4 separate regions of the Homo sapiens genome follow, and regions 2, 3 and 4 are each linked to region 1. Evidence: promoter capture Hi-C in human tissues and cell types (Jung and others, 2019). All regions are on one chromosome and are shown on one strand. Each heading gives the region's core, a stretch centred on a gene start or on the middle of the fragment in contact. The rest is flanking DNA. Distances are from core to core; before and after follow the strand shown. Region 1 holds the start of RPL7L1 (ribosomal protein L7 like 1). Region 2 overlaps CUL9 (cullin 9). Region 3 has its middle 9.1 kb from the start of UBR2. Region 4 has its middle 6.2 kb from the start of CRIP3.

Region 1 (2,858 bases), core at 311-2,810:
AGAAATATTAAAAATATAATAATGTCCTGAGGGAAATCAGACACTACTCTAGAGTCTTACTAGTCAGCCCATAGACCAGTAGCACCAGCGTCACTCTGAAGCCTGTTAAAAATGCAGAATATTGGCCAGGTGCGGTGGCTCACGCCTGTAATCCCAGCACTTTGGGAGGCCGAGGCGGGCGGATCACGAGGTCAGGAGATCGAGACCATCCTGGCTAACAAGGTGAAATCTCTACTAAAAATTCAAAAAATTAGCCAGGCGTGGTGGCGGGCGCCTGTAGTCCCAGCTACTCGGGAGGCTGAGGCAGGAGAATGGCGTGAACCCGGGAGGCGGAGCTTGCAGTGAGCCAAGATCGCGCCACTGCACTCCAGCCTGGGCGACAGAGCGAGACGCCATCTCAAAAAAAAAAAAAAAAAAAAAGCAGAATATCAGCTCCCCACCCGGCCTCCTGAATAAAAATCTGTATTTTAGTAAAATCTTCAGGTGACTCCTATTCACTATTAATGCTTGAGAAGCGCTGCTCTGGAGGTTTCCAGAGATGATAAGACTTGTGTTGTTTTTCAGGATTTTTAATTTTAAAAAAAATTTATTTCTTGTTTTTTTTGAGACTGTCTCGCTCTGTCGCCCAGGCTGGAGTGCAAGTGGCACAAACTCGGCTCACGCAGCCTCCGCCTTCTGGGACTTCAGGCGCGAGCCACCACGCCCAGCTAATTTTTTGTATTTTTAGTAGAGACGGGGTTTCACCATCTTAGCCATGCTGGTCTCCAACTCCTGACCTCAAGTGATCCACCTGCCTTGGCCTCCCAAAGTGCTGGGATTACAGGTGAAAGCCACCGGCCCGACCTACTGTTTTTCAGGATTCTATATAGACTGGGAGGGAAGAACGCAAATTCCGGGCGATGAGAGCTGCATAAGGGTTTTATTTTTATTCTTTTTTTTTCTTTTCTTTTCTTTTTGTTTTTTTGAGACGGAGTCTTGCTCTGTCGCCCAGGCTGGTGGGCAGTGGCGCGATCTCGGCTCACTGTAACCTCCGCCCAAGACGGGGTTTCGCCGTGTTGGCCAGGCTGATCTCGAACTCCTGACCTCAGGTGATCCTCCCGTCTCGGCCTCCCTCCCAAAGTGCTGGGATTACAGGCGTGAGCCACCGCGCCCGGCCTGTGTAACGGTTTTAGACGGGAAGGAAGCATGTTGTAGTTTTCGGTCCAGCAGTAATAGTAACAAACATAGTGCTGACAGACACTGCTAAACGCTTTATCTAATCTCCTGTAATCCTCGTAACGCCATTAGGTAGACCTATTATTACTGTACACCCATTTTATGGGTAATGAAGCCGCAGTATAGAGGGGTTAAATAACGTGTTCAAGGACGCATCGACGGGGCCAAGCAGACGGAATTGCAGCTACCTGCTTTACCACTCTAAGTCCTCAACAAACACTTCCACCTACACGTGAGAGCCAAAGCCATAGCCTCCAAGTTTTTCCACAGAGCGAAAATGTTTCGCGGAGTTTGCCTGTCTTCCTCCCCAGAGACGCAGCACAGCCGCGCCGGAAGTGCGGCGCCGTAGCTAGGAGCGGACGCCATAGGTGCATTGTGGGAAGCACTTTGCTGTCCACAGCCAGGCCGCTTGTGATGAAACTGTAACTTACAAGAAAAGGGCTGGGTTTTGAAAATAACACAGGCTCTAAAAACCCTAAGAAGCGGTGCAACTTTTGGCAGGAATCGGGGTTAGCGGGACCTCAAGGGCTCACTGCGGCTAAGTGAACGCTGACTGGTCCTCCAGCGTGAGCTAGAACAGACGTCTCTATGGTCAAGTAAACAGAGCGTGTGCTGTCTTCCCCATGTGGTGGGGTTGCGCATGATCAGTAGCTGCACCACTAGAAAGATGGCGGAGCAAGAGTGAGTGTTTGGGGCTTTGAATATCTGGAGTGGGGTCTTGAGTATCCGGTGCCATCCACGGTGTTTATGCCTTGGTGGCGGATTCCTGTGGGCTCTAGGAATAGAAAAGGCCACAGTTTACAAAGGGTGGGGGTGAGGAGGAGTAGCGCTGTGGCGGAGGAGGGAGGGGACCGCGGTCAAGTTCGGGTTATCTGGAGAGGCGAGGATTGACTTCAGGCAGCGGGCTGGAGTGCCACAGTTGAATTCACCCAGCCCGACAAGTGTTAACTCTGCAGATAGGCCTGCCCCCGCCCCAACCCCATAGATTCGTCGCTGCTAGTGCCTATGAAGAACTGTGGCCGTGAAAACCCTGTTAACTTATACGAACCCAGAGGCTAAAGGATTCATTATTTTCCGAGGCTTTGGGGATGAGTGACTATTAGGGATGGATTTATGAGGCCTGGAGTCAGAAACCGCAGGTTTCAGGGGAATCTTTCTTCAGATACTTGAAAACAGTAATGTTCCCTAAAGCCCAGGATATTGAATTGGTTTGGAAATCCATTGAATGTTCGTTTTCTTTTTTGTTGTTGTTTTTGTTTTGAGACGGAGTCTTGCTCTGTCCCCCAGGCTGGAGCGCAGTGTCGGGATCTCGGCTCGGTGCAACCTCCGCCTCCCGGGTTCAAGCGATTCTCCTGCCTCAGTCTCCCGAGTAGCTGGGATTACAGGCGTGCGCCACCACGCCCAGCTGATTTTTTATTTTTAGTAGAAACGGGGGTTTCACCATGTTGGTCAGGCTGGTCTCGAACTCCTGACCTCAGGTAATCCACCCACCTCGGCCTCCCAGAGTGCTGGGATTACAGGCTTGAGCCACCGAGCCCGGCCAAGTGTTCTTTTCTAAATGTTATCTCTGATCTCAATTTTCTGCATCAGGCAAAGAAAAATCCCTTTGGTTCCAGAAAATCTCCTGAAAAAGAGGAAGGCTT
Region 2 (3,071 bases), core at 300-2,799, 340 kb after region 1:
CCATTATCAGCCAAGTTAGAACTAAGAGATATACGTGTAAAATAGATGTCAAGACACTTTGTGAAGTGTTTGCAAAAGTGTTAGTAGATTGGTGATGACTCTAGTTTGTGGTTGCCCTTATTACCATTTAAGTCCCCACATCTCAGTGCACTATCACTGCTTTTATCATATACTCTCATTTAATACAAAAATTTTTAAAAATAGGCCTGGTGAGGTAGTGTGCATGCCTATAATCCCAGCACTTTGGGAGGCTGATGTAGGCAGATTGCTTGAGCCCAGGAGTTCGAGACCAGCCTGGGCAACATGGCAAGACCCCGTCTCTACAAAAAAATACAAAAATAAGATGGGCATGGTGGTGCACACCTATAGTCCCAGCTACTTGGGAGGCTGAAGTGGGAGGATCACCTGAGCCTGGGAGGCGGAGGCTGCAGTGAGCCAGTATCTCGCCACTGCACTTCAGCCTGAAGGACAGAGTGAGACCCTGCCTCAGGGTCTTCTTGCTCTATAGGCTTGCTTCTATATAGTGGACACAGAAGCTTGCATTTGGGGAGTGAGTCATCTTCAAAAATAAAAAATGTGGGGCTGAGGTACAGAGAACCTGGAGCACTGAGTCCGATATTCCTGCCTCACAGCTCTTTAGAACTGGTGCCAAGCCCAAACACTTCAGTTTAGCAGGAGGGGCACTCCTGGTTGCCATGAATTCCAGCTGCTTCTGCCAACAGCGTTTCCCCAGTAGTGGGTGATAGACGTGTCTGCATGTGCTTGTGTGCACGTGCATGCGTGTGTATTCTCTTTTTCTCTTTCCCTTTGGCTGTGCTTCTGGCTTCTCCTCTCACATAGTTGCTTATGCTCCCTTTTCCCCAGGTTCTTAATTATTTCCTTTACACTTTCATTTTTTCATTCAACAAATATTTCTCATGGATTTATGTGCATAGCACTGGGTGCTAAATGAGGTATTGAAAAAAATCCCAGCAAGAAATGACCAGAGAGCTAATAATATTGATGGGAGCTCACTCTGAGCCAGGCATTGTGCTGTTTACATGCATTATTTTACTTAATTCTCATACTAGTTCTATGAGGTAGGTATTTTTGTTATTCCCATTTTACATGACAGAGGGAGACACTCAGAGGTGAAGTAATTTGCCAAAGGTCAGGATTTGAATTTTGGCAGTCTCAGGCAATCCTCCCGCCTTGACCTCCCAAAGTGCTGGAATTATAGGCATAAGCCACCACACCCAGCCTGACAGTGGATTTTATTTTATGAGAAGCCATGGTGGGTTTAAGCAGAATATTGATATTATCTGGTTTACATTTTTTATTTTTATTATATTATTTATTTATTTTTATTTTATTATTATTATTTTTTGAGATGGAGTCTCACTCTGTCACCCAGGCTGCAGTGCAGTGGCGCGATCTCGGCTCATTGCAACCTCCATCTCCCGGGTTCAAGCGATTCTTCTGCCTCAGCCTCCCGAGTAGCTGGGACTATAGGCGCCCGCCACCGCGCCCGGCTAATTTTTTGCATTTTTAGTAGAGACGGGGTTTCACTGTGTTAGCCAGGATGGTCTCGATCTCCTGACCTCGTGATCCACCCACCTCAGCCTCCCAAAGTGCTGGAATTACAGGCGTGAGCCACTGCGCCCGGCCCTACATTTTTTAAAAGATCGCTTCTGCCGTTGTGTGGAGAAAAGGCTTGGAGGGAGCAAGAGTGGAAGCAGGAAGGCCCATTTGGTGACTGTTGTACGAGAGACAAGAGATGGTGGTAGTTTGGACTGGGGCAGTGGCGATGAGAGAGGGTGGATTGGGACACATTTGGAAGTGGAGCTGACGGGAGTTGGTGGGTTAAATGTAGGGGCTTCAGACAGGGGAATCAAGGATGGTTCCTGTGCTTTGACCTGAGCACCTGGGTGGATGGCATGTGTCATCTTTACTCTGTTGTGGCCCTGTGAAGTTTGAGCTGCTTGTTGGACACCTGTGTGGAACTGGCAGGTAGACAGTGGATTTTTGAATTTGGAATGAAGCAGAGAGGCCTGGCAGGCCTTACCCAAGGAGAAAGAAGCAGACCCAGGGAACCAAGCCTGTAAAGATACAGAGACGGGGGGTCTCAGGAGTTTGAGACCAGCCTAGACAACACAGCAAGACCCCATAGCTACAAAAAATAGAAAAAAACTTTACCCAGGCATGGTGGTGCACACCTATAGTCCTGCCTACTCAGGAGGTTGAGGTGGGAGGATTGCTTGAGTCCAGGAGATTGAGGCTGCGGTGAACCATGATTGTGCCATTACCCTCCAGTGTGGGTGACAAAGCGAGACTTTGTTTAAAAGAGAGAGAGAGAGAGAGAGACAAGGGGCCTGAAAACCAGGCAGATGAACAGGCTGATTGAAAAGCCCCTGCAAGGAGGAGCCTGTGCAGCATTGGTCACAGCTGAGTGGCACAACAGCAATGCAAGAGAAGCAGCCGGACAGCTCCCAGGGTGAGCCCCACCACTTGGGTTGGACAGTAGTCATGAGAGCAGCTGGGAGTCCCCAGACTGAGATGCCAGGGCAGAGGGGGACCCTGAGGCACTGGTGTGCCTGTAAGAATAGGGTCTGAATTCAGAGAAAATTTTCCCTGTTCTATCTCAAAAATGTAAGAATTTGCATTCAATTTCCCAACTTTGGGTTTGTTTCAATGCAGAAAGGGTTTTGTTTACTTTGGTCTGGTACTTTGAGTAAAAATGACCTAGTCAGGTGCTTCAAATTTATGCTGCAGCTTTGATATCACAGACACACGGTCTCCTGAGGGTTTAGACCCATCATTTTGGAAGGCATGGCCATAGGCAGTGTGAGAGGCAGGGGTCACTCATGGAGTATTGTAGGAGGCTCAGACGGCTGCAACGGCTGCTCGTGCATAGACCAAATGGATGGTGTAGGGAGAGACCGGGAGAGGAGACCATGGATCAGGCTCTCACAGTGGTTTAGGGATGAGGGGATAATGGCCTGATTTAGGATGGGGGAGTGACATGGGAGCAAGAGAACGATATGAAAGTTCCAACACTGGTGACGAGGGGGACAGTGGTGCAAGTTGATCAG
Region 3 (2,911 bases), core at 146-2,645, 320 kb before region 1:
ATCCTCCCACCTAAGTCTCCCGAGTAGCTGGGACCACAGGTGTACACCACCATGCTCCGCTAATTTTTTAAGGTTTCTGTAGAGACAAGGTGTCACTATATTGCCCAGGCTGGTCTCGAACTCCTGGCCTCAAGAAATCCTCCGGCCTTGGCCTCCCAGAGTGCTGGGATTACAGGCATGAGCCACCACGCCCAGCCCAAGATAAAATTTATAGACCACTGGATGTGTCTCAGTACAATGGGAGATTTAGACAATTGACAATTCGAAGTTCAGTCCCAGGAGATAATTTATATCAGCAACAACAGGTACAGAAAACATAAAATGTTCTTCAGAATCTTTTTAGTTTATATTTATTTATATAATGTATTTTGTTAACTTTTTTATTGTCTGAGGGCTCTTTGTATACCAGCGCTTTATAATATTCCCACTAGAGACTAAAGGAAACCCACTCTCAGTACTTCCCAATGAGAAGAAAAAAGTTGCAATTGGCTGTCACCAAAGCCAATGTCCCTGTAAAAGTGGGAGGCGGGTAACCTTGTCCCCAAGAAAAGCAGAGTGTATGCCTACAGAGTTTAACCACGGATACAACTATCTTGGTGTTGAGAGGTGACAACCTGCTAGCAGCCCTCGCTGGCTCTCGGCGCCTCCTCGGCCTCTGCGTCCGCTCTGGCCGCGCTCGAGGAGCCCTTCAGCCCGCCGCTGCGCTGTGAGGGCCCCTCTCTGGGGCTGGCCGAGGCCGGAGCCGGCTCCCTCTGCTCACTGGGAAGTGTGAAAAGAGAGGCGCCGGCGGGAGCTGGGGCTGCGCGCGGGCTCCGCAAGTCCCGCACTCTGCGCGGCGGGCCGGCGCCTGCTGGGCTTGACTGGGGGACGAGCTCCCTCTGGGCTGCCGGAGTGCCCGGCTAGGTGCCCCAAAATCCCGCAGCCAGTGCCAGTGACAAGTGAAGCCGGCTAGGCTTCTGGGATATTGGGGACTGGGAGAACTTTTCTGTCTAGCTAAAGGATTGTAAACGCACCAATCAGCACTCTCTGTCTAGCTAAAGGTTTGTAAACGCACCAATCAGCACTCTGTCAAAACGGACCAATCAGCTCTCTGTAAAATGGACCAATCAGCTCTCTGCAAAATGGACCAATCAGCAGGATGTGGGTGGGGCCAGATAAGGGAATAAACGCAGGCCACCAATGCCAGCAGCAGCAACCTGATCAGGTACTCTTCTGTGTGGCGGGGGTGCTTTGTTCTTTTGCTCTTTGCAATAAATGTTGGTGCTGCTCCGTCTTTGGGTCTGTGCTGCTTTTGAGAGCTGTAACACTCACTGTGAAGGTCTGCAGCTTCGCTCATGAAGCTAGCGAGATCACGAACCTGCCAGAAGGAAGAAACTTCAGACACATCTGAAGGAACAAACTCTGGACACACCACCTTTAAGAACTGTAACACTCACTGCAAGGGTTTGAGGCTTCATTCTTGAAGTCAGTGAGACCGAGAACCCACCAATTCTGGACACAGTGTGACACTCCTGAGATAGATCTATGTCCAATGTTTTGAAAGAATTCCAGGACATGAAAGTTCTCAATCTTTTACCCATGGCCTTTAAGATAAACCCGGCTAGACAGGGTGGCTCATGCCTCTAGTCCCAACACTTTGGGAGGCCAAGGCAGTGGATTGCTGGAGGTCAGGAGATCAAGACCATCCTGGCCAACATCATGAAACCCTGTCTCTACTAAAAATACAAAAATTTAGCATGCATGGTCGTGGACGCCTGTAATCTCAGATACTTGGGTGGCTTGGGGCCAAAGAATTGCTTGAACCCAGGAGGTAGAGGTTGCAGTGAGCCAAGATTGCACCACAGCACTCTAGCCTGGGCAACAGAGCAAGCTGGAAGAGAGAGAGAGAGAGAGAGAAGGAAGGAAGGACAGGAGAAGAGAAACCCAACTAATTAGTTTAGGACCAGTCCAGAAGAAGGGAGACTGGGTTTTGGCCTAACATACACAAGCTTGGTTATTTTAATTAGGAAATAAATAATTTGCCTAGAAGTAGGCCTGTAGGGGGAACAGCCTGTCTTGGGACGAACATGAGCCTTGGAGTTGGTGAGACCAGATTTCAAATGCCAGTTGAGCTGCTGATCTAACAATGCAACTGAATTGATTAGCTACTGGTACATACAAAATCACCTCAAAGTTTAGTGGCTTAAAACAACAAGCATTTATTTAGATTACAATTCTGCAGGTCAGCAATTTAGGCCAGTGCTCCTGGTCTCCCTGGCCTCTCTCACCTGCCTCTGAGGCAGGAGAATAGGGTTTGGAGGTAGAGAACCTAAGGCAGATTCACACTGACTTCCTAGAACTAAATCAAAAGGAAAACCGCAGTTGCAGTGAGCTGAGATGGTACCACTGTACTCCAGCCTGGGTGAACCCCAACTTTCCACACCCAAGTAACAAATGATCAGAGGCTACTCCCTTTGCAAGCCTCTCCTCCCTGCTACCCCACCCTGTTTTCTGCCTGGCAGATGAAAAACTGAAAGTACCTCTGATTGGTCCCCTCCTGGAACCAATCAGGCTGGTCAAGGGCCAAGTCTTCATTTGCATAGAAGTATAACTTTGTAACTTCAGCCTCTGATTGGTCACTTTTCGCAACCAATCAGACATTTGCATAGGGTGTAACTTGGCAACTTCAGTCTCTGGTTGCATTTACCTAGGGTGTATACCAAGTAACCAATGGGAAACCTCCAGAGGGTATTTAAACCCCAGAAAATTCTGTAACCAAGCCCTTCAGCTGCTTGCTCTAGCTGCTCCCACCCTATGGAGTGTGATTTTTTGTTTCAATAAATCTGTTTTTGTTGCTTCATTCTTGCTTTGTGTATTTTGTCCAATTCTTTGTTCAAAGCACCAAGAACCCAGACACTCTCTACCGGTAACA
Region 4 (3,114 bases), core at 292-2,791, 440 kb after region 1:
TCTGTCTTGGATTACCTTGTGTGCTTGCCTCATCTGCCTGGGCAGGTCATCTTTACCCCAGCATCTAGCACAGGGCCCAACACAAAGGAACAAACCTTGCGGTGTGAGTCCCATGTTGCTTTCACATAGCTTGCAATCAGTCAGTGGCGCAAATGCTTTACTGCTCCCCACATCTTGTAGGGCCTTTATTGTATGGCCTAATCTCACAATATGCTTCGGCTCTTCTATTTCAGTGCTTAGGAAAGACTAGTTGAGGCTCCACCCTTCCAAACACTTGCACTATGCATTTGCAGGTACAGCAAATTACAGTAGTCCACTTTTCTTCTTTGCCTGGTTTCCATTATTGACTCGAACAGAAGCTATGTAAAGAATAACTGGGAAAACACATTTCTTGTAGGAATGCATTTGAGTTACTGACAGTGGATGTTTTGAAGAACAGTTGGTGTGACTAAAGTCTCTAAAATGATATTTTAATAAATACTACAGATGGGTAAGTCCACCTCAAAGAAGGTATTACTCAATTGTTAAGGTGCAGTTTGTGTCATCTCCCATTAGAGGCAGGCCTCTTTCTCACAAAGACCACTGTTCCCTTAGTGCCCGCCCTGCCTTTTTCCTGCACAGACCTCTGTTACAGTATCTGTAACATTGTATGACACTTGTTTACTTGTTTGACTTTGACAGAACTGATGGAGAATTATCTGTGTATCTTTAACAGTGAGTGCAGTATAGGTAATCAGTAAATGATAGCTATTATTATTAAACTCTCCCACTAACTTTACTTCATGTTTTTAAGCTCTATTATTAGGTACATAAATGTTTCAGGATTGTGTTTGCTCGAGGAATTAACCGTTTGATTAGTGTTGTTAGAAAAGCTGAAGAAACAAGCTTTTCCATTCTAGGTGAGTAAGTGGTCCCGTAGAGATAGTGACTTCTAGTCCCTGGAGGGCTGTCACATGGAAAAGGCATTAGGGGTACTACCAAGACCCCTGGAGAGAGAACACAGGGAAGCAGATTTGGATTAGGTCCCCTCCAAAACCCTTTTAATAGAGCCCCAATATAGAGTGGCTGCTTCAGACAGTGGTGAGCTTCCTGTTTCTGGACACAATACTGGACAATAAACCAACTGATCCTCAGTGTTGCAGAAGGTATCCAAATATCATATGCAGATAGAACTTTAAAGCCTCTTCATGATTTAACAATTATGATTCTGTGATTCCTTTCCCAAAAAGGAGCTTGAAACTTGTGTTAGAAAGAGGGCATTACTAGAGCTGATGAAGGGTAGAAATGTTACATTCCCAATTGTATAAAAAAGAAAGTGGCTTGGTAAGGTTACGAAATTAGTAAAACATTTGGCCAGGTGCGGTGGCTCATGCCTGTAATCCCAGCACTTTGGGAGGCCGAAGTGGGAGGATCACCTGAGGTTAGGAGTTCGAGACCAGACTGTCCACCATGGTGAAACCCCGTCTCTACTTAAAATACAAAAAACTTAGCTGGGCGTGGTGGCAGGTGCCTGTAATCCCAGCTACTCAGGAGGCTGAGGCATGAGAATTGCTTGAACCTGGGAGGTGGAGGTTGCAGTGAGCCGAGATCGCACCACTGCAGTCCAGCCTGGACGACAGAGCAAGACTCAGTCTCAAAGAAAAAGAAAAAAAGAAATGTGTAAAACATCATACAGACCCAAGCATTCTGACTCTTGAGCCCATACTCTTTCCACTCTATACCCCCCTAAGCATGGTTTTTGCCCATGTGTTTCAACCTGAAAAGACACTACACTTGTCTGCACAGCACCTCCATACCTGAAGATAAGAGGGCCTATCCAGGAAAATAATGGGTTGAGATGCAAGGGGCAGGGAAATGTCATTAAAACCTTTCCATGATTTCTCAGTATCCTCAAGACAGGACCCTCCACTTTTCCAGTCTTCTAGCCATTTCTCCTGTTGCATCGACCCCTCCATCCACATCAAATGAGCTTCTTGAATCTGTTAAGTTCTATTCTGCCTCAGGGCTTTTGCAAAGGCCATCTTTTCTGAGAATTCACTTCCCCAGTATCTTCACCTCATCAATTCCTACCTAACCTCAGCTCCCCCTCAACTACTCCACACCAGGTTATTGACCCCAAGCACTGTTTCTATACCACCATCCTCTCCTGGAGGGTAGAGGGGGCCCAAACTATGACAGCTGTGTTTTCCCTGAGTGCTGAACCAAATAAGAAATAAAAGACAAACAGAGATCCTTTATTATTATTATTATTACTATTTTGAGACAGTCTCATTCTGTTGCCCAGGCTGGAGTGCAGTGGCATGATCTCAGCTCACTGCAATCTCTGCCTCCCAGGTTCAAGTAATTCTCCTGCCCCAGCCTCCCTAGTAGCTGGGATTACAGGAGTGTGCCACCATGCCCGGCTAATTTTTGTATTTTTAGTAGAGACAAGGTTTCACCATGTTGGCCAGGCTGGTCTTGGACTTTTGACTTCAAGTGATCCACTCACCTTGGCCTCTCAAAGTGCTGGGATTACAGACATGAGCCACCACCCAGCCCATCATCTTTATTATTGATAAAGGACAGGTTGTAGTTTAGAAAGTGAAATAAATATGGTAACTTCCTGCCTACCTCCTCCACTCCAATCTGGGCTTTGTCTGCCCCCTTAGTCTGTGAGATCCATGAGAGCAGGGACCAGGCTGCTTTGCCAACCATTGCATATATTTCCAGTGCCTTGCTCAAATCTCTGGCACATAGTGCTCAACAAATACTTGCTGGTGAATGAATGTTACATGTTATATACAAGTCCCCCTGAGTGTGATAGATGAGTGCTAGTGAGAGATGTGGGAATAAGAGGGGACTGGTAGAGGTTGAGAGTTGGTAACAACGAGTGTCCTGGAGTGAAGGAAGTTCAGCTGCCTAGGAATAAGGTCTCAGGAATTTGTTTCCTTTTTTCCTTCAAGAGACAGGATCTTGCTCTGTCACCCAGGCTGGAGTACAGGTCACAGCTCACTGTAACCTGGAACTCCTGGGCTCAAGCAATCCCCCCATCAGTCTCCTAAGTAGCTAGGACTACAGCCATGTGCCACTGTACCTCGCTAATTTTTTATTTTTTGTAGAGATGGGGTTCCACTA

Evidence for each region. Contacts are between HindIII fragments. The study calls those that stand out against the background at their distance.
Region 2: a contact is called between a fragment that was not itself captured here and the fragment with the promoter of RPL7L1 in region 1, in 2 of the 25 tissues and cell types used here (aorta and spleen).
Region 3: a fragment that was not itself captured here is called in contact with the fragment with the promoter of RPL7L1 in region 1 in 2 of the 25 tissues and cell types used here (mesendoderm cells and small bowel).
Region 4: a fragment that was not itself captured here is called in contact with the fragment with the promoter of RPL7L1 in region 1 in 1 of the 25 tissues and cell types used here (liver).

The regions. Positions count from the first base shown.
Region 1 is chr6:42,878,056-42,880,913 of GRCh38, forward strand. It overlaps RPL7L1 (ribosomal protein L7 like 1), which reads left to right and starts at 1,561. Exons shown (of 6, transcript NM_001366481.3): 1 at 1,561-1,896; 2 at 2,806-2,858. The coding sequence starts at 1,856. RefSeq lists enhancers at 573-1,530, 1,273-1,742, 1,531-2,487, 1,763-1,822. The HindIII fragment of the contact is 12,927 bases long and covers 1-2,858 here.
Region 2 is chr6:43,216,869-43,219,939 of GRCh38, forward strand. The region is part of intron 31 of CUL9 (cullin 9); the gene reads left to right. Among named protein-coding and RNA genes, the nearest start is that of DNPH1, 11 kb to the right of the region's middle. The HindIII fragment of the contact is 8,126 bases long and covers 1-3,071 here.
Region 3 is chr6:42,553,456-42,556,366 of GRCh38, forward strand. No RefSeq gene overlaps it. Among named protein-coding and RNA genes, the nearest start is that of UBR2, 9.1 kb to the right of the region's middle. The HindIII fragment of the contact is 6,616 bases long and covers 1-2,911 here.
Region 4 is chr6:43,313,441-43,316,554 of GRCh38, forward strand. No RefSeq gene overlaps it. Among named protein-coding and RNA genes, the nearest start is that of CRIP3, 6.2 kb to the left of the region's middle. The HindIII fragment of the contact is 4,386 bases long and covers 1-3,114 here.